Regions from separate parts of the Homo sapiens genome. Here regions 1, 2, 3, 4, 5 and 7 are each linked to region 6. Evidence: promoter capture Hi-C in 16 types of primary human blood cells and fetal thymus (Javierre and others, 2016). All regions are on one chromosome and are shown on one strand. The core of a region is centred on a gene start or on the middle of the fragment in contact, and the rest is flanking DNA. Distances in the headings are between cores, read along the strand shown.

Region 1 (3,624 bases), core at 802-3,301, 4.8 Mb before region 6:
CCAAGTTCGAGTTGCACTTCCGGGGTCTTCAGGAGATTGATACGTCATTACGCACTTGACGGCAGCGGCGGCGACAACCCGGAAACGGGCGGGGCGCGGGCCCTGGGTAGGTTCCTGTGGTATTAGGTGGACTGGAGAAAGAGGCCCGCGTGAATTAAGTGTAGTTCTCTTATGCACTGGCGGACTCTGGTCGCCCTTCCTTGTGAAGGCTGCCTGGGTAGCCGTAGAGGACGAGGCCACTCTAAAGCCTCGTTTTCCCAGCGGAATTTTAACTATTCTAAGGATGTCCTTACAGCCAGTTCCCCACTCCGCTACTCAGAGTGTGTCAGACTTTACCCTGTCCATTCAACTCCAGAAAAACCGGGAGGTCTAGATTCGGAAGATTAAATTTACCTTTGAATTAGGACATGTAAAATAGGAAGTTAATATTAGCATCCTAATGACAAAAGTTTTCTCGTTATCATACTTGACTCAAATGGGAATCTTACGGATATTAATGTTTTTTCCAGAAACAGGTTTGAAAGGTATTTCAAGGATAAATCTGGGGAAAGGGATGGAAGCAACTGATTTTTAATTTTTAGATAGTACTCTCAGAGCATTTATTTAGTCCAAAACTGTTAATTTAATGAATTAGGCTAAACTAGACGCTGGGGTAACAAAGCTGAGTTAGATACCCTCTCCTCTGAGGCAGCTAAAGAGAAGGAAAGTCTGGTGGCTGACAAGTAAACCAACAGTTATGTTCTTCAGAGAGGAGATCTCAGACTCTCTAAGGTATACTTCACTTCCACACTGTTTGTACTTTGCAAATGTACCCTGCCCCCTAAAATGTAAACTCACTGATGGTAGTGACATAATCTTGTCTTTTTAATGTATCCTCAACCATACAACAGTGCCTGTCCACAAAGTAGACAATAAATACTTATTGAATGACTGAATGATCACAGTGGTAAATAATAGATTGGGGAAATCTAGAAAAGTGTATAGGACAAGAAGAAAGTGGTGTAAGTAAGTGGCGGGAGATAAGGAGCAGTAAAAGGTGAGAGAATCCACTGGAGTTAGCCAGAACTGAGTACCTGAATGAATCTCGGGCATTGCAAGACTGTTAGGGCTTCATTTCCGGAAAGAACTCAAATGGTTTGTAGAGTGACACTTTATACTGAAGAGGAAGGCAACAGCCAGATTCTGAAAAGCTTTCTATGTCATGCTGAGTAATTTGATTTTCTGCTGCAGACAATTGGGGAAGCTGAAGGATTGTTGAACAGAGGAGGGAAACATTTTTATTTTGGTGGACTTTTGCAACAGTGACAGATTATATTAAAAAGATAAGGCTCCCAAAAATGTATAATCCCAGTTTAACCATGAGAAAAACATCAGACAAAATACCTGACCAGTACTACTCCAAACAGTTAAAGTCATGAAAAACAAGGAAAGTCTGAGAAACTGTCTGAGCCAAGAGGAGCCTAAAGAGACCAACTTTAATGTTGGATCCTGAAATAGAAATAGAACGTAAGTGAGAAAACTAGTGAAAATTGAATAAAAAAGTAACATTCCATTAAGAGAATATACCAATGTTTACATAAAATATGGAGATTGGTCAAAAGATGAGTGACATGACCTTTCAATATTTCCAGGATAGAGGCCCACTCAAGGGTTAGGGGAATGTACTTTGTTCAGTAGTAAACTATTGAACAAACATATGGGTGCTTCAGCCTGCAATTCCAGCTGGACTTACATGGGAATGAATGAGCCTTCAGATTGTTCCTGTCATTGAGTCAGCTGGGGTCCAAAATTTCATAAAGCAGAGACGAGCCATCCCCACTGTGCCCAGTTCTGAATTCCTGACCCACAGAAACAATTAGAGATAATGAAAATGATTCTTGTTACTTTAAGCCAGTAAATTTTGGAGTGATTTGTTTTTCAGCAAAAGAAACTAATAGCTGTATGACAACAGCCAAAGAGTAAATATCCTTTCAAGTCCAATCCTGCCTAAGATGTCAAAATCAAGAATGAAGAGGTTATGTGCTGAAACAGAGTGAGTCCTTTTCTCTCCTTACTCTACCCTAAATGGTAAACTCCTGCCTCAGCTGACCACAAAAATATCTTCTGCAAATCTGTGAGGAGAAAGGAGGGAAAGCAACAAAAATTGTATGTGGGCTTAGATGTTTTGTTAGAATTACAACAGCCCATGTGTAGCTTAGCAGAAACCATTACAATGATGACTACACAATATAGTACAAAAATGTCCCCTCATTTTAACCATAGTCATCTAAACTGTACAAGTTAGTTTATAATTTTAATTTATACATCTCTAGGGAAGCCAGAAACTTCAGTTTCTCTCCCCACCTCTCTTCTCTTGCACTTCAAAATCCTACTAAGATAAGGAAAAAGGAAAGGAGATTTGTTCCCTCCTGGCTAACAGCTGGTCCATCTTTGATCACTAGGATGATCAAAGAAATGTCCCTATACCATATTTTGCGTATCCTCCTCCTATTCCAGACCACTTCCTTGGGCATCTATCTTTTTATCAATCTACTCCCACCCTTCACATTAAATGATTTCAGTGACATACAGCAGACAGACACCTCCAAAAATACTAACAAGGCTACATGTTGTTCATTTAAGTTAAAAATAAAATTTAAACCTACTTATCATGACTAGGACTCAGTGCCAACATTTTGGCAGCTCAAGAAAATCCATTAAGGAAAATATTCTTAATTAGATGCTAAGGGCAAAGCTCTGTCCAAACTAACCAACTGTATTAGAATGAGGTCTGGATTCTGACTTAAATTTGGAGAATCAAGTAACATTCCTGCCCTTGCTCAAGCCCAAGCAGGAATGTGCTGTGGTTTGAATGTGTTCTCTAAAAATTCATGCATTGGAAACATAATTGCCATTGTAATAATATTAAGAAGTGAAGCTTTAAAGAGGTGATTTAGGTGATAGGGACTGTGCCCTCATAAAAGGATGAATGCCATTATTGTGGGAGTGGGTTAGTTATCATGGGAGTGAGCTCCTGATAAAAGGATAAATTTGGTCCCCATTTTCTCTCTGTCTTGTGCACTCTCACTACTCTGTCTCACCCTCTCTCCCCCTGTGATGCTTTCTGCCACAAGATGACCTTCACAAGATGCAGCCTCTGGATCTTGGACTTCCCCAGCCTCCAGAACTGTAAGCCAAATGAATCTCTTTGTTTATAAATTACCCAGTGTGTGGTATTCTTACAGCAGCAGAAAATGGACTAAGACAGTATGTGTGAAGTGTGGATAGTAATTACAACAAGTTCTGCCTTCTAGATTCAGTTTATATTTAAAGCCCAAAAAGTAGGATCATATAACCAAATAATTTCTAATGACCCCTCCAACAAAATGATTATTACTTGAAATCAACCCCCTATCACTTGTACTTTCCATCTAGATGCTGGGGACACAAAACTGAGTTAGACCCAAGAACACCCTTTTCATTATGCCTGGAATTTTTTTAAAATGAGAAAAGATAACATATCAGTGTTCAAAACATACTTTAAGAGAATTTCGAACAAAAAAACATAAAATAGCCTCTAGTTTGTGATGGAGACAATTTGTAGGTTGATATATTTACCTAGAGTTAGACAACCTGTGAGGTTTG
Region 2 (3,660 bases), core at 1,161-3,660, 4.3 Mb before region 6:
CTTTCTCTTTCCTTTTTGGCATATTTGTACACTCTAATGTTTCTGTAACAAATGGGCGTTTTTCCATAACAAAGAAAACAAATGCCAACTCCATCCTCCACCCCATCCTAGTTATACACACAGATTATTGCTTATCGTTAAAAGCCTAACATCTCTAACTTGCCCACAGTTATCTACAGCTTGTCCTAAACTCAGCTTTTTACCTCAGCTTTATTACCAGCCTTCATCCATCTTACATAGCCAAAGTGACCTAGGTACTATTTCTGTTTTCTGACACCTTTGCATCTTCCAGTAGAACACTTGTCCCTCTTGTTCCCCTGCCAAAATCCTTTCCATCCTATATGGCACAAACTCAATATTACCTTTTTTATGAGGTCTTTCCTCATCTGCCCTCCTGGAAAAAAAAAAATCTCTTTTCTTTGCATTCCCATGTTTTGTGTTCAATGATGTATGTAAATTGCCCTACATATAATTATTTGTTTATATAACTTTCTCTCTCCTAGTAGACTGTAAGTGAAAATATTCTTCACCTTTGTCTAATTTATAAAGCATTTTTCATATCCACTAATCTTTTATCCTTGCAAGACTGAGCAAGAAAAAGAATCAATATTTATTTATCAGCAATTGTGTATCAGACAACACGTTTGAGGCTTTATAAGTCAACCCACTTAACGCTCACAGCAATCCTATGGATCCATTTTACATATGAAAACATAAGCTCACAAAGGTTCAGTGACTTATTAGTGTCATAGCTGGTAAAAAAAAAAAAAAAAGCATGGCTGTGATTTTTTTAACTCTATTCTTCCTATTGCAAAAACATGATTGTGTGTCCACCAATGTGGAAGACGTGAACACATATAAAAGCTTACATAAAACACATCAAAATTGATGAGGGTTTTCTGGCACTCCAGAACTGCTATATTCAGATAATACTTAGGAGTCAACTAAAGTCAGAGGATTTTTGAGGTAGGAGGGACCTTACAGATAATATAATCCATCAAACTCCTATATGTTATAGATGAGAAACATGATACCCAGAGCTTTTGCACACATTTAGCAGCTGAACCAGGATTAAAAATTCAACTGGAGGCTAGCAAAGTGGTTAAGATTATCGCTTTTGGGATCAGAGCCCTTCATTCAAATCATAGCTGTGTTTAATGACTATGCGTAACCTACGACAATTTACAAAGCTTATCTTTGCCTCAGTTTTAGCATCTGTAAAAGGAGGATAATAATACTTACCCACTGTGCTGTAAGGAGTAATTTAACACTGAATAGCAGAGAATAAACACAGAAAAATATTAGATATTCTCTCATCTCCTGTCTCACAGTCCAGTCTTCTTTGCAGGACAGCACATTGCCTTTTATGAATGAGTGTGGAGTGGACACTGTATTTCAGGGGCAAGGTGAGTAAAAATAAATATTTATTTATGTGGTAAATCCTTTAAAAAATGTACAAATACTTCTCGGTGGATAAATAACATTTTAAAAAGGAATCATTCATTCAATAAATGCTTATTTTTTATTTTTTAGAGACAGGGTCTTACTCTGTTGTGCAGGCTAGAGTGCAGTAGTATGATCATAGTTCACTGTGACCTATGTTTATTTATTAAAGGAAGTATAGAACATAGTAAAAAGAGCCAAAATTTAGAGGATCTGGATTCAAATCCTCTTGCCTTAGCCTCCCAAAGTATTGGGGTTACAGTCATGAGTCATGGTTCCTGACTTATTTATTGAGCTTCTATTACACGCCAGGCACAGTGCTAGATGCTGGGTTTGAGATGACGAACAAAACAGACATAATCCCAAACTTCATAAGCACTGAAATTTGATAGCAAAATATCCCTGAGATCTGCCTACGGGATCTGCCTACAAGTCAATGCAATGTAATCAAATACACATTAGTATTTCAGGCTAGCTATACCTATACAGTTGTAAAACAGGATATTCTTTAGAATTAACTTCTATGTCATTTCTAGTATTGGTCATTTCAACTAAATTTTTGTAAATTCTCTGAAAATTAGGCTATTTCTGTTTCTCTATATAGAATTGGGTATTGGGATGGGCAGGTTTAATAAAGCATATTCCTGAAACTATGTGATAATCCCCATCTGTTTGAGGGTTACGTGAGTGGAACAGCACAGTTTTGCTAATAATTCCTTATAAATCATTACAAAGTTGAATTTTATGAATTTGTGCTCATTTACTCATTCTTTCTCCCTACACACACACACACACATGCACACACAAATATACATGTATACAAATGTGTGTGTGAAAAGCTGTCTAAAGAGATAGTTAGCTGATACTCTGGACTCAGTCACCAATATGCTTGCTGATGGTCTCCAGATCTTCTGCATTTGCCCCAAGTGTTATGCTAATGTACAGTATAGGCATTTGTTTGAATTAGGATAATAAAACTGGCCAAGGATAAAGGCACTAAAGAAACTGCATTATTTAGATGTCAAAATTACCTTATGGTGATGAACACATCCCTTAAGTCCCTTTTATCCTCAAGTTTTGCTATCCACTTGATTTCTAAATGTGACATACTATCTATCCATTTTTACCTGGAGTGAAAATAATGATACTGTTATGTTTACTTATAAAGGTATAGAGCACAGTAAAAAGAGCCAAAATTTAGAGTCAGGTAGACTGGATTCAAATTTTAATTGTGCCATTTAATTGTATAATTTATGGAAAATCACAACCTCTTTGGGTCTCAGTATAAAATGTTTTGCAAAATAGAAATAATACAATTTTTGTGATTTTCTTTTTTTATTAAACATTAAATAAAATAATAAATGTAAAGTGCCTGGCAGACAGTATCTACTTGGGGTAAGTATTAATGATTGGCTACATTCAAGAGCAATTCAAAGAGAGAAATCACTGCCTCTAAAAACTAGTTGCTGTACAGATATAATACATAATATCCCTGAAGTAATTTATAATACTTTCAACTGGAGAAATAAAGAAAAAATACAAGATTCAACAAAATGTCAAGATTGGGATTAATGGGGCGATTATAAGTTTGTTGAATTATTAACCAACAAGGCCAGAAAATCAATGTGCTGTCCTAAATATGGTTTGTTGCATTACTCTCAAAAGGTTAAGAAGACACTGGCCTGGTGTTAACAGGGGCCTTGAATTGAACATATTGCATTTTTCTTTATCGGTATGCTCCGATAAAGAAAATGTTTTTATGGGTATGAGGAGCATACCCATAAAAAAAATGCAATAGTACCTACAACTCTTTCGGGAACTGACTGTTTTGAAAAAATAACAGTCAGCTGCCTTTTACGGGGGTTGGTGGGGAGGTAATTATCTAAATATAAGGTGGCAAGTGAAAACTAGTTACCTAAGAAATTGCATTACTTAAGAGAAGTCGCCAAGGTTCACTACATCACATCTTTCAAATCTTAAATGAGCACCTTTCCTCACATTATCCCTTTGTCGGAAGCAATTTCTCTTTACAACTATTCTGGCTACCTCAGACCTCCATCCAAAATTCTCCTGAATCCTTCATTATCGACAAAGCCTGGAGCAGAACGCAAGCATTCCTTTCTGAAAGCACACATACTTACTGATCACTGCTTTCCAAAAATGCATCTAATGCCCAAGCATGAAATTACAAGCTTGTTCTCTTATGTCTCAGCCATG
Region 3 (3,700 bases), core at 980-3,479, 4.4 Mb after region 6:
AATTGCACCTTTGTAACATATTGTATTGACGAATGATCACTAAGATTAGCTATATCTATACAGTCATTAGTTTGACAAGAAATAGAATCCTGTCAGATGCCAAAGAGTGGGATTTTTATGTTTAATGATTAAACACCATTATTTATTGACAATTTACCCTGTGGAACTGTATTATTTCTAACTATGAAATAAAGGGGTGATGTAAACACACATTGTTGTGTGGTGCTTTAAACTAGGTCCACTATCAACAGGCTACTTACTGTTCAAGAATTCCACTGAAGCACTTATTTTAAGGCCCTATTTTTCTTAAACAAAACAGTGACAACAACAATCAAACCATTTACTTTTGATGCTCATTGGCATTTTATGATAAAAGATGTATTCATGGCAATGATATGTATTCACCCTATTAGGAAACACAACTGGTTACCTATGAGACCTGTTCTGTCCGTGTGCCTACGTTCCTTAATAATAGCTAAATAAAAATTTGTAGCTTTTTTTGTTTTGTTTTGTTTTTTCCTGAAAGACAGGTGAAACTCTGTGGCAAAAATAGGGGGGTTAATAGTATAAGATATGGCATACTTACTCTTTTTTGATTAGTAAAGATATATAATTTTAAATTTGGTTTTCTAGAAAGAAAGTTTCAAAACTCTAGGCCAGTAATTTTCACAATGTGTTTGCAGAACCCCTTTATTAGTTCAGTCTTACTTTCTCTGCACCCCATGGAATTGTAGCCTATGGTAGGTAAGAACCAATTTTTTTAAAAAAAGGGTAGGCTGGATCTCTTTTAGTTGAAAAACAATCCCTTTTGACATGGTTTCTATTTTTTAACTTTTTCATTTTTTATTCAATTTAATATTCCACACTAAATGGGGCACACTTGGCCAGAATATACCTGATGATATTATCTTACTGTTCTTGCCCTTAAACATTGCAGCACTATATAACTTTAATTTTTTTCTTCTTTTGCAAAAGTACCGTTTGTTTGAAGCTCAGATGATGCATAAAGTTGCAGTAAAATTTCATTCCTTGCCTCAATCTGAGGTGAGCTTCTTTTGCTCTTCTGACTTCCATTTGGTTGCATTTTACACCTCTGGGTGCAGGGCTCCCATAGTCAGTAGTCATGGAAGAAGAGGCTCTATGGGGATGGATTTAACATGTAAAAACCAGTTCAGAACCCCCAGATCTTCTGGACTCCAGCCCAGCTGGGCTATTGTTCCAGAGCCATCATGTCCTGTCCATTGCTTCTTATGCCCTATAATGCCCATCTGTGATCACTGTGTCTTTTTCCTTCCCTGGGATACTTTATTTAGGTGATTTCAATATTTGAGGTTTGAGAAGCTTTTTGAGGATTCTGAGTTAAGTTTTAGAGGCAAATAAGTCTTCCACTAAAGAAAATATTTCTTCAAATCTTAAGCAACCTATTTTTTTATTAGTTTTTTATTCTAGCATATATTTGTCTCAGAAAGGCTTTTATTCTATTATAATCATTGAACTTTTTTAAAGGAACTTTTAAGTGACCCTGGTCTAAGTGGTTCTCATTCAGTGAACAGAGGAGGGGAGACTGTCACAGTTTATAAATGGCATAAATGCTCTAGAAGAGTTGGGGTTGAAAGAGAGCAAGCATGTACATTACTGTAATGCAGAGAGGACAGCAAGTATTAAGTAAAATTGCCTTTTTAAACAATGTAATTTGATTAGAGAAATGGAAATTGATGAGGAAGATTGCCTTGGAAATATAATAAGTGTGATTATGAAGCTGGAAGTGGAGGCTGTCAGCACTTAATGATGCACTTCACTTTGTAATATACGTCTTTAGATAAGAATTATGAAATGGACTTCTGTGATATTTTACATTGGAAAAAAGTTAAGGATTTTTCTGGCTGAGAAGACTGGAAACAGAAGAAAAGAAGAATGAGCTTGATTTGTTATTTTGAGTTTGCTGAGCCCCCAAGGACACTTCTTTCTTTAGCCTGGAGAGATGTTGAATTTGTATTCTTGCCATTGTGAAATGACTTTGTGCAAGATTTTTTTTTTCTTCTTCTTCTTCCTTTTTTTTTTTTTTTTTTTTTGAAACAGAGTTTTGCTCTGTCGCCCAGGCTGGAGTGCAGTGGTATGATCTTGGCTCACTGCAGCCTTCACCTCCTGGGTTCAAGTGATTCTCCTCCCTCAGCCTCCCAAGTAGCTGGGATTACAGGCACCCGCTACCAAACCTGGCTAGTTTTTGTATTTTTAGTAAAGATGGGGTTTTGCCATGTTGGCCAGGCTGGTCTGAAACTCCTTACCTCAGGTGATCCTCCTGCCTCAGCCTCCTAAAGTGCTGGGATTACAGGCTTGAGCCACCGTGCCCGGCTGTGCAACGTTTTATTAAATGGTTTCAGAGAGAAAGTCTGAAACCAAGTCTGAATGTTGTCACCCCTGACCGTGGGGTTGTGCTTGATGTATAGATGTATGGGAAAGCACAGAAGGAGAAAAGGGAACTCAGCATCTATTAGATTGGAAGAGAGTAGCTGCAGTTGGTGGAATCCTTAAGTGATCCTGGCTGGAGTCGCTTCTGGAGAGAAGAGCTTTGATGCTTTTGCTTTTGTGAAAAAGCCACCTGCACTTTGAAAGTTCCTTCTGAATGTTCTCAAGAGAGGATTCTTATGGTGATCCGGTGGAAAGAGGAGGGAACGCTGGGTTCATGATAGTGACCTTTAGCCTGATTGGCCAGGAAAACTATTCTTCACCAAACTTTCATGTAAAAGGATTACGCATTAAATATATATTTGGAAGACTTTGAATCATCTTTTGTCCCTGGCCTAATGCCTCAGTTAGGGAAAGGAACTTACACAGTAAGAAGTTTTTGAACTTAAAGAAGTTCAGGTTTTGGCTAAGGGGTTGGAGCTGGGATGGCAAATACTGAGCATGCCGACCACCGTGCTCCTCGCTTATGCATGTGGCAGACATCACTAATCTATCAGAGCACAGTCCCCCTAGAGTCCAGATGTGGATGCATTATCTTTCTTAGCACTTTAGGCAGCTGCTACTGAACTGATCAGCATTACATAAGAGTTTTGCCTATCACATCTCCACACCCCTTGCAGTGGGTTACAAGGTAAATTTAAAAAATAGTCTGAAGCTTTTGGAGTAGACCAATCTGTAGACCATTCTGGATCCTGTCCTCTAACCAGAGAACAGATGAGAATGGTCCCACACTGTGACCCATAAGGCATCTACTGAGCACATGCCAGTACTTTGGGAAGAGAAGGGCTTAAGACAGTTTTTACCTTCAAGAACGTGCTTATTATTGGGAAAGCGGAAAGATAGCATAAGAGGCACCCCAAGCACATATTTTGTAGACTAACAATTTAAGAGAGGGGAGCTTAAATCCCATGGAGCTGAAGTCTTAAGAAAGAACAATCTTGTTTATTTTTCTCTCTGCCTGGCTGGCTGATTGGATGTGTTAACTTACATTGCTGATCTGTATAAAAGTTGACATGTAAAGATATATTTCTTGAAAGTACCTTCATTGGAAAGCCTGGGGAGATGACAAATACGGGAAAATCAGCATCTTAACAAAATAATTGAATCTGAGGAGCACCAGGGAATGCTAGTGATGTTCAGGTGTTAACTCCCCGTCTCCTCAGTAGGCTGCGGAGATGAACTGAAGAGAACTAGAAGAGAAGAGTTAAGGTGGAGAGGTAGTGTTAAAGAACTG
Region 4 (3,760 bases), core at 431-2,930, 4.3 Mb after region 6:
ACTTTAAGGGGGTGGATTGCTATTAAAAGAACTGATACTAGAAAGAGAAACACATTTTTGTCTTACTGAACGAATTATGGGTTATCTTACAAAGTTGGCAAGGTTAATGGTTTGTTTGTAAGGTCAAGGATGGTTTCAGAAAAGTCACACCCTAGTTAACTCTTCTTAAAGAGTATTGATGACTTACTTTTTGCAAGTTGCAAATGGTAAAGTAAGAATATTTGAAAGAAGCCTCTAAGATGAGCATCTAGGTGCAGCTAAACATTTTGTTTTCATTGTTGTGTTGTACTTTGACAGTTAAGCCATTTTATTTCTGCTTAGTGTTCAGTTAGTATTCCTCCAGAGATGTTTTGGTTCATCTTTTACTTGTTTTTAGTGGTCTTTGAGATTAGTGGTTACAAAATATTTTCACTATTTTGAAAGAATTTTTAAAAATTGATGTTTTTTTTCCAAGTGCTTTTCCATTAGTGGTCTCTTCTTAAATAGCCACTCTGAAAATACTACCTGTTTTTCTTTTTCTTTCTTTCTTTCTTTCTTTCTTTCTTTCTTTCTTTCTTTCTTTCTTTCTTTCTTTCTTTCTTCCTTTCTTTCTTTCTTTCTTTCTTTTCTTTCTTGAAAATGTTTTGGTGGGCTTCAGGTTAGGGCCATGAAAAAAATGAAAATAAATGTTTTGATAGCTAGAATTAGAACTCACAGCTTCTACTGTACCAATTTCTCTGCCTAAAATTTGTCCTTTCATAATATAAACTTTAATGATGAATGTGATTTTTATTTACCAATATTTGAAAGGGCTATGTGCTGGTCCTCATATTTATAGTCTTATGATTTGTGATCAATGTTGTTAAATTTTTTCTTACTGCTGTTTTGTTAGTGATCTGTGCTGAAGCTTGAGATTCACGACTTTTTTGTGTGTTTACGAATTTTGTATGGACATAAACATTTCCAAATGGAGCTTTGTATATTTTTGGGAAAGGCACTCCCTTTTTTGGGTTCCTAGTGCCATTCAGGTTTACTGTTATTAGAAGGATTTATTTCCATGTCTGCCCTCCCCTCTGACCCAGTCTCAGGCCATCTCTTTATATGTGCACCAGTGCCTGCATAGTGTGGGGATATATAATAAGACTTAAGAAACATTGTTGAATGACTGAATAAGTGAATATCTAAGTGGGTACACCCGAAGAAAGAACTCAGACCTGTATGGGAATTCACCGTTCAAGCAGAAGGGTGTTTCCCTTTTTAAAAAAGTCATTGCCTTTCCATGTTGCTTTTGAGTAGGATAACAAATGAAACAGCCAAACTGAGACACTTTTGAGAGTTAAAGGGGGTTGCTTTCAATAATTATGCCAGGGTATTGACTATGAATTGAGATATATAGTCACTCTTCTTTTGAAAGGCATTCTTATTTACCTGTGATAATAACTATCACCTGAGAAATTCGATACATTTGGTAGTTAATGTTTGCAAACTTTTCTATTTGTAGAAGCTCCACTTGCAGTGAAATGTTGGGTGTCTTTTGCTTAGTCACCCATGACTTTCTTATCCAGAAGTCTGTGGGCAGCTCTTGGCCACTGCTTGGTTTTTTCCTATTTTTATTGCTTATGGGATAATGTCCCACTGCATTCTGTTTCAGCTTCTTATAACTGGAAGCATTTATTATATCTTGTAGCCTTTGCTCTATTTACTTCAGTCTTTGTTTTTATGCAGCATTTAGTCTATCTTCTAAGAATTTCACATGGATTCCTTTTCCTCTTGCTGACTGTTTTGGAGAGGAAATCTGTTGATATCTTTCCAAGCCTTCAGTGTTTAGAACATTGGCCAAAATCAGTTGCAAGCGTTAGAGAATTATAGATTTTTAAAGTATTCTAAAAATGTGTGTTATTTGAAAGGTACATGTTTTGGGAATTTTTATATTACAATCTTTTAATTGTTATAAGTGGGAGATGGGGGTAGAACCCTTACTGTAATTTTGTAGTAGATTTCTTTATGGGTTATGTCTTAAAGAAAACGTATAATCTTATACTAGTTAGTTTCTGGTCTTGTTCTTTTTATTTATTTTTCCCTCTTTTTCACCATATACCTCCTCCTCCTCCTCCTCCTCCTCCTGCTCTTCCTCCTCCTCCTCCTGCTCTTCCTCCTCCTCCCACAAAGCAGGAAGCAGAGTCAAAATTAGAAAAAGTGAGAATGTAATGGAGCTTCTGCACCTTGGTTTTCTTGTGTTGCTCCCTTGGACATTGTGTTTATATTCTATTTTTGGCTTGGCACTGGCATAATAGGAATAATCAGTTACTACTCTTTGTTTACTATGAAATTACCGATCATTTCCTAGATTTACACATCAGCTCCAGTGCAAGAGTTGGGTAATGTCTTCAAGGCTCCTCTGCTTTCAAATCCAGACTAAAGTTTTAGTTGATTTCTTTCTTTTGATGTTGAAAAAGAAACTCTTTGAAAGTGTAAATATTTTTCTAATGCATTTAAAAGCTTAAAAAGAAGAATATGTCACCAAATACATGAGGCAAATTATATGAAAGTTTGAATGAGATTTAAGACTGTCAAAACTATTCTTTAGGATTAAGACATTCAGATATTTCTAATGTTCCTCCTGCTTGTTTTAAATTGACATTTATAAAAGTATAAATGAAATCTATCCCACTTTGTGATAGATGTAGTCTTGAGAAATAAAGCGGAAATATATAACTGTATTTGATATCCAACCATATAACCAGACGGTATTGGTTGATACCTTTTTTTCTGTCGCATAATTTATGATTTTAGAAAATAGAAGCTCATAGGAGAAAGAGTCCATGATTCAGAAGGATTTTGTATAAGACTTTCCACGATGTGCCACCAAATCTTAATATTTTTCAAGTTGGAAATAACCATGCAGCTAAGTAGTTCCCCCAACCATTTCACAAATGAGGCAATAAAGCTTTTAGATAAAGTGCCTACCCATACACTTAAAATAGATTTTCACTTATAGAAATTACTTGATATACATTTTGCGGGATCATGATTATTGTGTAAAAGGCTATACATGTTGTCTTATCATTGAACAGAGGCCAGAGTGTAAAGTAAATGATCTTTGGAGTCAGACCAATTGGGGTTCCAATTCCTGCTGTGACTCTCATGTAGTATCACTTAAAAGAGTACTTTAAAATAGGGCTACTACTAAAGAGTACTTTAAAAATGGGATAATAATATTTTCTTCATGGAGTAGTTAAGATTAAATGATATAAATTGTATATCACTTTTGACATAAGGAAGATGCTAAAGAAATGTTCGTTTTTAGAACTCCTCTTTCCCATTAAAAATCCATTAAATAAGAAATGCAGATGAATGTTATTAGTATTGGGGAAATTCTTTGGGATAATTATATTAAATAAACATTTTGTCTGTAGGTAACAATTTTTGTTACAATTTACTGTGTGTTAAAACCAGAGGCTTCATTGGTGGGGTAGAATCAAGGCTTACTTTTCAAGATTTTTTGGTTCCCCAATTTGAGAATAGTTGGTGGCAAAATACATGAAAGGGAGTGTTTCTGTTATCTACATCTGAAGAAGTTGCAAAGGCTGATAAACATGCTAGTTTCTTGGAGTGACAGTTCTTGGTGCATTGGCTCCTTCCAGTTTCTCAAGCTAAAGAAGCACATATTAAACTCAGTAATTATCTATTTCCTTTGGATAAAACTCTCCTGTACTGGTAGGGAAAGTAATAAAGTTACAAACTCCTTGCCTTTTTTCTTGCAGTTTGTCTTTTGTTTGAT
Region 5 (3,640 bases), core at 365-2,864, 4.3 Mb after region 6:
AATGATTTAATATCAGGAAATAAAAAATAATCCTATCTCTTATCTACTTTTTCATAATTTAAATATCATGCTGTTATTACTCACAAACTCTGGTTTATCAGAGGACTGAGCTCACTGCAGAGTTTATTTTTATTTTTATTTTTTTGGAGACGGAGTTTCACTCTCGTTGCCCAGGCTGGAGTGCAATGGTGAGACCTCGGCTCACTGCAACTCCGCCTCCAGTGTTCAAGCGATTCTCCTGCCTCAGCCTTCTGAGTAGCTGAGATTACAGGCATGCCCCACCATGCCTAGCTAATTTTTTGTATTTTTAGTAGAGATGGGATTTTACCATGTCACCCAGCCTGGTCTCGAACTCCTGACTTCAAGTGATCCACCCGCCTCAGCCTCCCAAAGTGCTGGGATTACAGTTAATTTTTTTAATAGTAAAGTTAAGATGTAAGCTTTAAAAAATGGAGAGGAAAGAAGTATGAAAAAGAGGAGGTAGAATAATGAAGGTTTCTACTATTTAAGTTTGAAAGATTACACTAAATATGCATACTAAATATGTAATTTCCAAAATCACCATTTAGCCTTGAGCTTATATTTAATTAGTTCATCAAACATTCAATATTTACTAAACTTGTATACTTAAGGAACTTTGAGAGGCACTATCATGGTTGATTCTTAAATCTCCAAGAAAAACAATATATGTTTTAAAAACAGCATAAGACTGGAAATTGAACCTTGTGAAACACATTTAGGAGGGATATGGAAGATGTAAGTGTGTTTATCATGATAATTATATTGCAAAGTAACCTGGCTCAGACAGCAAGCAGTTCATGTAGATGATGGTAAGTAGTATATTACAGCCAGCCACAATTTTTGTTCTCTTCTCATTTTTTGGTACTCCTATTAAAATTCAGTTAAGAAAGAATTATCATTTTCATCATCATCATCATCATCATCACCACCACCCCGGAACTGGTGTTAGTATTTCCCTCTGTCTCTCACACACCGCACACACACACACACACACACACACAAATACACAAAACAGCAAAGTTTTGGATCGGATTGCCTAAGTATCAGAATTTTCTTTCTATCAACTTTCTTATACCATGTCTTAAAATGTAAGTACCCAGATTTTTGGTTTTTGTCAAATCACTTGCCAAATGTGCTCGCTTTCCTTCTTTCCCTCCTCCTTTCCTTCTCTCAACAGTTATTGAGCACTTTACTATGTACTAGCACAGAATAATATTGTGGATGAAAGAAAGGAAAAAAAAGCTATGGTCCCAGACCTATGCTTTTCACAAGACCTGGAGGATTGCTGAGCAGTGATTCAATGCTTATCAGGCCTGTGCTGAATATCTTGAGGGTTAGGAGATTTCAGGGAGCAAAGAATCTGACCACAAAGCTATTGGCTGTATCTGACCAGGTTGTGGGAAGAAAGAAAATTGCCAGTCCAGGATTTGCAGCAACGGAAAGGCAAGAACAAAAACTGTGACTAAAGAGATATGATAAAGCTACGCTAGGTTAAAGGAAGAAAAGATGTTTACACTCCAGGAATGTAGCACTATCTCTTGTCTCTTTGTCTCTCTGCCTGTTTCTCTATGTCTGTCTTTCTGTTTTGTTCTGTCTCTCTCTGTCTCTGTCTCTCTCTCTCTCTCTCGCCCAGCCCCCCCAACACACACACACACACACACACACACACACACACACACACATGCGCAAATACACACCAGGTTTGAGTTAAGGACCAACCTAAAGCACACACAGTGTGATTTCAAGAACCAACTCTTTCTGTCTATGATGATTTACCACTGAGAAACAAAGGTTTTCATTTTGCAAAGGTTTTCCTGGTGATGACAAAAGGGTTGAAAAATATGTAGAGTGTCTCTAAAGACAGTTTTTTACTTACTGTTACTGAAGAACACATGAACCAAAAAGCAGTTTTATAACTTGTGGATGTTGTGGATGTTAAGTATTAAAGATGGGCTTACATTTCAAGAGTAATCAGTAAGGTGATAGTACAAAAATCACAATGCCTTGTAAGGAAGTCACAGTTGTCCTACTGTTTGCTAATGGTAGTTAACATGATAACTTGTATAATAGATTAAACTTGCTAAATTGTGATAGGTGGAGGTATCACTTCCTTAAAAGGCTAGAAGCTGTCAGATGTTAAAAGAGGTTAATACAGAGTCTCTCTCTGTAAGACAGTAAGGAGTCTTTTTTGAGTAAATATTTAGATGTTCAAAGAACAGAAAGGGTAACTTGGAGGAGAGAAAACCTGGGCTTGGGAACAGTTTAGGACTCTTGTCTTCAGCATTTCCCAGGAAAAAGGACTCCAGTGGGCCAACAAAGAGACCCTGATAATTTGCTCAAACCCAACGTGGTATGTGTAGTTCTTACACAAATTCCGAATAAGCAGCCTTCTAATATCACATTAGTTTCTCTGCCAGAAGCGATATTTCCCAAGAGAAGTAATTAAATGGATTTTCTACTCCAAATTTGTCCTGTGTGAACTTGGGTAGTAAATTTTTCCAGGGAATGCGTGGATGAATCCTTTTATTTAGACAATCACAAACAGTAGCCTAGGATGAGAGAGAAAAGAAACTGCAAGGTGATTTTGAACACTAGTTCATCTTTCCTAATTGCATACCTCTTAACACTTCCAAGCCTTTGTCTCGTGTAACAGAAGAAGGTAATACGACTATCTTATTCATAAATAACTGTAGCGAGATTGAGATTAGTGAACATCAGGATCCGTACCATTATGTCCCTGTGAGTCTTCTAGTCATGAATTCTGTTGAAAGCTTAGGTAGGATGATCGCTTAAATATAAAAGTCTCTCAGAACTGGAAGAAGTCTGAGATATGATAATCACCTTGTAGCGTACATTATGTGTACTGTTATTAAATGTGTATGTGAAAGTTCTGGGTTTGTCCTTTCAACTAAATTATAGTTTGAACTTTAGTGCATGTAAATTATGCATTGACAAAGGCAGAATACTTTGAGACGTGAATGTTCAAGTTATTATATGTTATTGTGGGGAGTTTTAAATAGCAACTGGAAACTTATGGTAAAATATTTATTTTGAATAATTCTTCTTTACCAACATTATTTCAGAAACACATCTAACATGTGGCTGTTGAAGCAATATGGAAATATGAAATATTAAGGAAATGTCACTTATATGTTCATAAGTTTGGTTTTATGTACACTCACTTGATGTCTTGAGGAACTGGGGCTCTGTTGGTGCCATCCTCAATTAAAGTGGGAGCACTATAGATACAGCATTTTGCCAGTGTTGATCTACTGATTTAATAGGCATTCACTTGTTAAAATGAATTCACATTTATTTGTTGTCTTATTTCGTTAGGTGGCTATACGGCTGATAGTTCTCTGACTTTGAAAGTTTACTTGCAATTAATGAAAGCACCCAAGAAAAGAAGGGGAGAGGTGAATGTGGGAACTGTGGTTGCTTTCATTAAAGGTGGTTTTCCTGTAGTAAGTTGAGATGCTTTGTGTCTACTGAGTATAATCCGTGTGGCAACCTCCTCCAACTTCATAGGCTCTACTCTCTCTACAATATTTGTGAAGGAGAAGGTTTATTTCACATTCATTTCTGAGGCCTCAGTTTGGCAACCAATTTTCCACATGGC
Region 6 (3,682 bases), core at 603-3,102:
TTATTTTGTGAAAAAAATTGAAAAGGTAATAGAATATACACTATATCTGATTTTTTACGTAAAAAATTTGGGGCAAGAATAATGAACCAAGACACACCATTTCCACCTTTAAAGATTTCAGTACAACACTGAAGAATCACCTACAAGCCATCCACGAATAAACAAAGGAGATCTCTGGCAGGGGAGGGAGAGGAAGAAGCGGGGGAAGGAGACGTCAGATCCTTCCCCAGCCAGAAAGTACCGAGACAGCCAACTGAGAGCAGAGCTGTCCTCCGACCTCAGCAAAGAGAATTCACTCCTACGATTATTTCCATTCCACAAGAGAGGGAGGGAAACAGATTGTTACCAACTCAATGATAGCAAAGTCTGCATCTGGATCAGGATGTTAATTCTCTAGACTACTGTCCAGTAGACTCTGCAAGAACAGGTTATCTAAAAAGTAACCGTTCTACTCAACATTTATTCCTAATGTTAAATATTAATCTCAACCCTAGTCAAAGTGCCTTACTGAACAATTAAGTCTTAAAAAATCTAAGTATGTTAACAAACTGCCTTTCCCGTTTCTTCCTTTAAAAAGTTCACTCCCCTTTTCGTTCTTTCCTTTTCACCTTCCTTTCGTCCCTCAAAATGGCTTTCTCTGTACATTTTAACTTCCTTTCCCCTCCATCTCCCTTATCCGAATAAGTCCTCTGAGACCCTTTTCACAACCCTGAGTTCTGAAGCTCCAAGCGCACACAGCGCTGTGTCCTCTCAAGCGTCTCCACAATGACTACCCTAAGTTATTAAACCTCTTCAATCCTCTGTCTTTTAGCAGTTGCTTTGCTCCTGCTAAGTTTTTAAAGCGGCACTCGAAAGAGGTTTGGAAACCATCCTCACTCATCCATCCAGCGCGCTCCAATCAGCCTCCCTCGCGGACCTGCCCCCCTCTCCCAGGGCCTCCATCCCGGTCCAGGAGTCCCTCTTCCCGCCTCAAACTTCCCGCAGACCCGCCCCGCGCCCTCCCAGGCTCGCCCGAGCCGCCGCCCCCTCCCCCTCCCGCCGCTCCCCACGTGCTGGGAGCCCGGGTCGCGGCAGGACCCACGCACCGGCTAAGTGCTAGCCATTCGCGGGTCTCCTCTCGCGGCCCGGTCGGCACCAAGCCGAAGAGGCCGGGGCAGGGCCGCCGGGCCGGCGCAAGGATGCGTTCTGCGGCCCCGGCCTGTACTCGCCGCTCACACGCCCCCTGCGCGCCAGGCCCGTACACCGCCACCGGCACTCACAGAGCCACCCGGCCTTCACCCGGCCGCTGGGCCGCCGCCTGGGCACCGCGCCGCGCCCGCCCTCCGCCCGGCCGGTTCCTGTCCTCTCCGCCACATCCTGACCCGCCCGCCGCCCCCTTTCTTACCGGCGGGCTTGGCGGGGCGGAGGGAGCCGACTCGGGTGGACGGCCTCCCCCGCGCCCAGGCCCGGGATCTCCGCCGCCCAGTCCTAGGGCTCCGGCGTCTCGGGGTAAGCAAGAGTCCGTGCGGGGGAGGGGGAAGGGGACAGACGCGGAGGGGAAGGGGAAGCCCCGGTCCGCAGCACCAACGCGCGATCCCCTGCGGAGTGGAGCTAACAATTCATTATTGAAGCACCAAGGGCGAGGGCAGCAAGAGCTATAAGTAACCAGTCGTCGCCGCCGCCGCCGCCGCCGTCGCGCGCGCGCTCCCGCTCCCTCCGCTTATCTGCCCCCGGCAGCCGCCATGACGCCGAGAAAGCAAGCGAGCGCAACCGTCTCCGTCGTAGCCGCCGCCGCCACCGAGGTCGCCGTCGCCTCCGCCTCCCGCGCGACGTAAGCGCCTCTGCTCACTCCCCTTCCCGACAGAGCGCGAGGCGGGCGGGCGCGCGCACGCCGAAGCCTTTCTGCTCGCGCGCGGGAGGCGGGAGGGACTACGTTGAAGGGTCGTGGGCGTAGGAAAAAAGCGATTGGTGCTGGGGCGGGGCGGGGGGGGCGAGTGCGCGCACGCGCACGAATGGGAGTGCGCACGGCGGATGCGCAGAGGCTGTCGGACTCTGACTGCGCGGAGACCGCTGGACTCTGGTCGCGGCCTTAGTCCGCTGATCCTCGCTTGGGTGCCCGCCCTTAGCGGCCCGGCGTTGAATTCCGGGAAGTGGGAGCTTCAGGCTCGCTCCGTGCGGGTATGGGCGCTAATGTCACTTGGGATGGTTGCGCAAGGACATCGCGGCGGACACTGACAAGGAACCGGGGAGGAACGGGGGTGGGGAGAGACTGCGATGGGACTCGGGAAGCCGGGAAGGGCCGCGCTGAATAAGCCTAAGGGGCCGGGTCGCAAGGAGTGTCGGGTAGCACAGGCCTCGGCTCAGTCGGAGCGCCAGGCCTCAGGGTCCGGGCGGGGGCTGCTGCGTCACACCAGGCAGCCTGGGAACGCAACTGTTGGGCAACCGTGGTGGCCTCTCGCCACCTCTTACGCTTGGGCGATCTGCGATTGACGCATCCTGGGAGCTGATGTCCCGCACGGGCGGGGCGCCGGAGGAGGAGAGAAAATAGAGACCCGGTTGTTGACAGCCTGTGATGCCGCTTGATTCATGTGTGGGTGGCCTGGTTTAGAAATGTACCACCCTTCCTTTCTAGGTTCCTCCCCGGAGGGCGGGGTGACGGGTGCGGCGCCGAATCGCAACAAAAAACGCTGCTCGAGGGATGTTAGTAACTGTCTCAGCTTAAGTTGCTGCCTTTTAGCTTACAGTTTGTATCGTAACTGTAATTGTGGATCTTAGTTAAATCCCTTCAGTGTGTTGGAAACATATTTTTAAGTGTATTTTTGAAACATACTTAGAGCATTTTGAAATGCTTTTTTGAAAGCGTTTTTTAAATCAAAATTCTGTTACACTTTATTTTTTTCAGTCTGCAGATGAACTTGACTCACTCAAGGTTAATGATTTTTGTTTTTTATTTATGTTTGTAGAGGCGGGGTTTTGTCATGTTGCTAGGTTGGTGTTGAACTCCTGAGCTCGAGCGATCCACCTGCCACTGCCTTCCAAAGTGCTGGAATTACAGGCGTGAGCCACGGCGCCCGGTGGCCGAGGTTAATAATAATTAAAAGTTTCTAATCCCATTGTTCAGTTATTTGATTTGGTGTAAAGGCGCACTTTCCAAGTCAGATGAGTTTGTGGTAACATACATTCCCCAAATAATTATTTTTCCCTTGTGGGAAATATTCCAGTTTTAGGCTACCAGCTGTTTAAACAGTTTGGTTCAAATCCTTCAAAAAAATCTCAAAACATAACTCCACATATGTATTTACTACATATTGAAGGGTGTATTCACTTGGAGAAGTAGGAGAAAGCAAACAGATGCCAATGGCCTTTTTGAAAACATGTATCTATCAGCAATAATTGAATAGCAAAACGAAGTGGAACACTACCATCCTTTGCAATATTAGATAGTTTTAATACTGGGTTGTGAGGAATGAAAAGATCATACAAATCGTCATTTCTGAAGTCATTTCTGAAGTCGTCATTTCTGAACTGAGTGCTAATTTTTCATATTAAGCTTTATGTTAATATCCTTAATGAGAGGAACTTCCTGTGCCCGTAATTTCTCCAGAGAAACTATTAACATACACAGAATGTTGTAATCAGAAGTATAGTTCAGTTAATAAAGTCCTCAATTACAACTCTGACATTTTGTCATTGTCTTATGAAA
Region 7 (3,459 bases), core at 222-2,721, 4.3 Mb after region 6:
CATTTTGAAAATGTTCTGTCATATTTCTTAGGATCTTTCCTCAGAAGAACGCTTTCATGTTGAATTACACTTTAGTCCGGGAGCCAAAGGTTGTGAAGAAGACAAAAATTTGCCATCTGGCTATGGATATAGACCAGCTTCCAGAGAGGTAATGAAGGTGGAACTCTCAGTGCTTAGTTACTACAGTTCTAGATTTTCATGAGGTTTCTATAAGAGATTTTTATAATGTACTATAAATAATTCTTATTTTAACTTCTAAGCAGGAAAATGGTTTAAATTTTTTAAAGTGTGATTTGTATAGACTGTACTTTTATGCATATTGCAATACCTAGGAATTTTATCTTTTGTTTAGATTGTTTGAATTTTAAGGCCGTGTTTAGAATGGATAACCTTAAACCTTTAATTCACCAAAATTGACTTTTTTGGATGTAGTACATGTGATGTGCAGTCCAGTTTTGTTGTCTTCGCTCTATGAATAACTAAACCCCAGTATCATAGATTCAAGAGTTCATACTTTTTCTGCCACCTATAGTACTACATCTGATACTGCAGACATATATTGTGTCTGTATTTTGATTGGTTGGTTTCTGAATTTTTAGTCTTACTTGATTGCTCTATTTGTCTCTCTCTCTACCAGTACCACAGTCTTAATTATTATAGCTTTATAATAAATATTGATATTGAGTATAGAACTCCTCCAGCTTTGTTGTTCTTAAAGATTATGTTAAATATTTCATGTTTCATGCATTTTCATATAAATTTTATAATCATTTTATAATATTCTAAAGACTCTTTGAGATTTTGATTGAGATTACCACTACTCTGCAGATCAATTTGGAGAAAAATGATACTTTTTCAGTATTGGGTCTTCTAGTCTAAGGACTTGGTATATTTCTGAGTTTATTTAACTATACTTTATATTTTTTGATAAAATCATTATTTTTTCATTAAAAATAATAGCAAAAACCACAATTACTTTTGCACCAAATAATTGTTTTACACCATCTTTGTCATATTAATTCCTAGTTCCTTTATAGTTTTTTATGCTGTCATAAATGATTTATTTATGATAAATTAAATTTCATTTATGATTTATTTAAATTTCATTTTTTGTTTTTGTCATATTAAATTTTAACTCAGTTTTGTATAAAAATTTTATAGCTAGCAAACTTATAACTTGATATATGCTGTTATTCATTCTAATAATTTACCCTTAGAGTCATCTGGATTTTTTATGTATATGATCATAACATCATCTATGAATGATGAATAGATTTAGTGATAGTGGACATTCTTATCTTTCAGTGTCTTATTATTAACTGTGATGAGCCCTTCAAGTTTTGGATATCCCTTATTTGATTAAAGAAGTACCTTTTTATTCTCTGTAACCCTTAATTTGATGAGGGTTTTTATGTACTCAGTTTATTTTCTTTTGGCCAATATTATGTTTATGAGGCTCATCAATGTAGTTGCATTTAGTTTTAGTTTGTGCGTTCTTATTGCTTTAAAATATGTGTTTTACTGTATTACTATGGTCCAACGTATGCATTATCTTATAGTTGGATATTTGATATAAAAATTTTTAGCTTGCCTGTCTCCCATACTGTGTTGGAGGATTCTTGCAATCTGGGACTGTGTCTTATTCATCTGTGTCCTAGAACAATTCATGGCACATGTTATACACTTAGTAAATGCTTAATGAGTCACTGAATGATTATTACTTTTAATGCAGTTATCACATTTATTAGAAATGTTTGGAATAGATTTAAATATTCTAAAATATATAAATACAAGTGCTGTTTAGTTCATGCTCAGGTTGATGAGACTCCTATATAACAAAGCTCATCTCTATTATTTCTTACTGTCATTTATTATTATTGTTTATTTATTCTTGCACTTGATGAAATGTAATTAAACGCTTTGTCTTATGTGGTTTTTTAATTGTCATTTTACTGTTTAATTTCTCCATAGAGTATATGTATTTTTGAACTCAGAGACTCTGCCTTTTCCCTCATAGTACACAGCATAATACTAAGCTGTTAGAAGAGTTCAATTAATGTTAATTCATCTGAGTAAACAAACTTGTATATGTATTTCAAGTACCTCTACCAGTGGTAGTTGAATCTGTTCATCAGAAGAGATTTCTTAAATCTGAATAGTAAAAGTGTTTTATATTCTTTGCTCACAGAATGAAGGCAGGAGACCTTTTAAAATTGATAATGATGATGAACCACATACTTCTAAAAGAGATGAAGTTGATCGAGCTGTGATATTGTTTAAACCAATGGTATCAGAGCCAATTCATATACACAGGAAGTCTCCACTTCCAAGATCTAGGAAGACGGCTACAAATGATGTAAGTATATGTATCAGAACACATTTTTCATACAGTAAACTAACTATATTTTAATAAAACAGAAAAGAAAATACAGCTTTAATTGTGGAGCTTGGGAAACCAACAAATTTTTAAATGTTATTTAATCTATTTTTAAATAAATTACAAAAAATATAGAGGCAGTTCAAAAATAGATTAGCTTTAGAATGTTGAGCTTTACATATAGTTTTCATAAAAAAAGGATGCAAATATAAAATAAGCTGTTTCTAGGAACTTGAAAAATGAATGCTTTTTTTTTGTCTTGTTACATTAGGAATATTTACATTAGGTTGATCTTCAATAATGAATTTTTTTTAAAAGCCTGATTTAATGGATCAAGAATAATTTTAGTTAGAGAGCAAGCCGGGCATGGTGGCTCATGCCTGTAATCCCAGCACTTTGGGAGGCCGAGGCGGGTGGATCATGAGGTCAGGAGATCGAGACCATCCTGGCTAACATAGTGAAACCCCCGTCTCTACTAAACATAAAAAAAATTAGCCAGGTATGGTGGCGGGCACCTGTAGTCCCAGCTACTCAGGAGGCTGAGGCAGGAGAATGACGTGAATCCAGGAGGCAGAGCTTGCAGTGAGCTAAGATCACGCCACTGCACTCCAGCCTGGGCAACAGAGCAAGACTCTCCCCAAAAAAAAAAAAAAAAAGTAGAGAACATTTGCTGGAGATGCTTTAGCAATAACTGATTCAAGTGATACTATAGGTAAAGAAATGAAATTCTAAATTGTTAGCCTAATTGCAAAGTCTATATAGGAATTTGAATGTTTGATAATATAATAAAAAATTTTACCTTTATATTAAGATCTATAAATAGGTTAGAATAATTCTTATGCTCTCTAATAGAAAAACATTTAAATAATTAATAAAGTAACATTTAAAAGGAAAGTTTAGCAGTTAGAATGAAGCTTGTTAAATAAAGCTTTAGCACCTGTATACATTTTTAATACTTTAAATAAGTTTTATTTGGGGTTATCTCTGTTTTCTGTAGGATGAGTCTCCCAGCACTGATTGAGGTCAGTGCTTCTAACTGTTTTCTAAATGCTCTAGTAAAAGTATAAAGGAAGAGGGGCCTG

What was found. The method cuts DNA at HindIII sites, captures the fragments that hold promoters and counts their contacts. A CHiCAGO score of 5 or more calls a contact.
Region 1: a contact is called between a fragment that was not itself captured here and the fragment with the promoter of CHD1 in region 6, in 4 of 17 cell types (total CD4 T cells, naive CD4 T cells, monocytes and 1 more). The highest score is 9.0, in total CD4 T cells.
Region 2: a fragment that was not itself captured here is called in contact with the fragment with the promoter of CHD1 in region 6 in 4 of 17 cell types (non-activated CD4 T cells, activated CD4 T cells, fetal thymus and 1 more); the score reaches 9.6 in non-activated CD4 T cells.
Region 3: a fragment that was not itself captured here is called in contact with the fragment with the promoter of CHD1 in region 6 in 1 of 17 cell types (neutrophils); the score reaches 12.1 in neutrophils.
Region 4: a fragment that was not itself captured here is called in contact with the fragment with the promoter of CHD1 in region 6 in 8 of 17 cell types (neutrophils, activated CD4 T cells, non-activated CD4 T cells and 5 more); the score reaches 18.0 in neutrophils.
Region 5: a fragment that was not itself captured here is called in contact with the fragment with the promoter of CHD1 in region 6 in 1 of 17 cell types (neutrophils); the score reaches 8.1 in neutrophils.
Region 7: a fragment that was not itself captured here is called in contact with the fragment with the promoter of CHD1 in region 6 in 8 of 17 cell types (M0 macrophages, neutrophils, monocytes and 5 more); the score reaches 10.9 in M0 macrophages.

The regions. Positions count from the first base shown.
Region 1 is chr5:94,111,634-94,115,257 of GRCh38, forward strand. LOC105379087 (a long non-coding RNA gene) reads left to right here and starts at 69. Exons shown (of 7, transcript XR_001742441.2): 1 at 69-106; 2 at 692-771; 3 at 1,922-2,032; 4 at 3,114-3,168. ARB2A (ARB2 cotranscriptional regulator A) reads right to left here and starts at 30. Exons shown (of 11, transcript NM_032042.6): 1 at 1-30. The HindIII fragment of the contact is 1,727 bases long and covers 1,189-2,915 here.
Region 2 is chr5:94,614,308-94,617,967 of GRCh38, forward strand. All of the region lies in intron 1 of KIAA0825, which reads right to left. Among named protein-coding and RNA genes, the nearest start is that of KIAA0825, 2.5 kb to the right of the region's middle. RefSeq lists an enhancer at 3,311-3,660. The HindIII fragment of the contact is 2,445 bases long and covers 1,189-3,633 here.
Region 3 is chr5:103,278,163-103,281,862 of GRCh38, forward strand. It overlaps MACIR (macrophage immunometabolism regulator), which reads left to right. Exons shown (of 3, transcript NM_033211.4): 3 at 1-498. Among named protein-coding and RNA genes, the nearest start is that of MACIR, 21 kb to the left of the region's middle. The HindIII fragment of the contact is 1,780 bases long and covers 1,340-3,119 here.
Region 4 is chr5:103,261,124-103,264,883 of GRCh38, forward strand. The region is part of intron 1 of MACIR (macrophage immunometabolism regulator); the gene reads left to right. Among named protein-coding and RNA genes, the nearest start is that of MACIR, 4.2 kb to the left of the region's middle. The HindIII fragment of the contact is 1,592 bases long and covers 885-2,476 here.
Region 5 is chr5:103,242,481-103,246,120 of GRCh38, forward strand. It overlaps LOC124901037 (a long non-coding RNA gene), which reads right to left. Exons shown (of 2, transcript XR_007058894.1): 2 at 3,317-3,640. Among named protein-coding and RNA genes, the nearest start is that of MACIR, 14 kb to the right of the region's middle. The HindIII fragment of the contact is 2,352 bases long and covers 439-2,790 here.
Region 6 is chr5:98,927,155-98,930,836 of GRCh38, forward strand. It overlaps CHD1 (chromodomain helicase DNA binding protein 1), which reads right to left and starts at 1,853. Exons shown (of 36, transcript NM_001270.4): 1 at 1,385-1,853. It overlaps CHD1-DT (CHD1 divergent transcript), which reads left to right and starts at 1,408. Exons shown (of 4, transcript NR_151718.1): 1 at 1,408-1,488. LOC100289230 (a long non-coding RNA gene) reads left to right here and starts at 1,980. Exons shown (of 1, transcript NR_036530.1): 1 at 1,980-3,682. RefSeq lists silencers at 997-1,626, 1,887-2,096 and enhancers at 1,870-2,768, 2,257-2,586. The HindIII fragment of the contact is 7,543 bases long and covers 1-3,527 here.
Region 7 is chr5:103,177,833-103,181,291 of GRCh38, forward strand. It overlaps PPIP5K2 (diphosphoinositol pentakisphosphate kinase 2), which reads left to right. Exons shown (of 31, transcript NM_001276277.3): 23 at 32-148; 24 at 2,189-2,356. Among named protein-coding and RNA genes, the nearest start is that of PPIP5K2, 59 kb to the left of the region's middle. The HindIII fragment of the contact is 3,635 bases long and covers 1-3,289 here.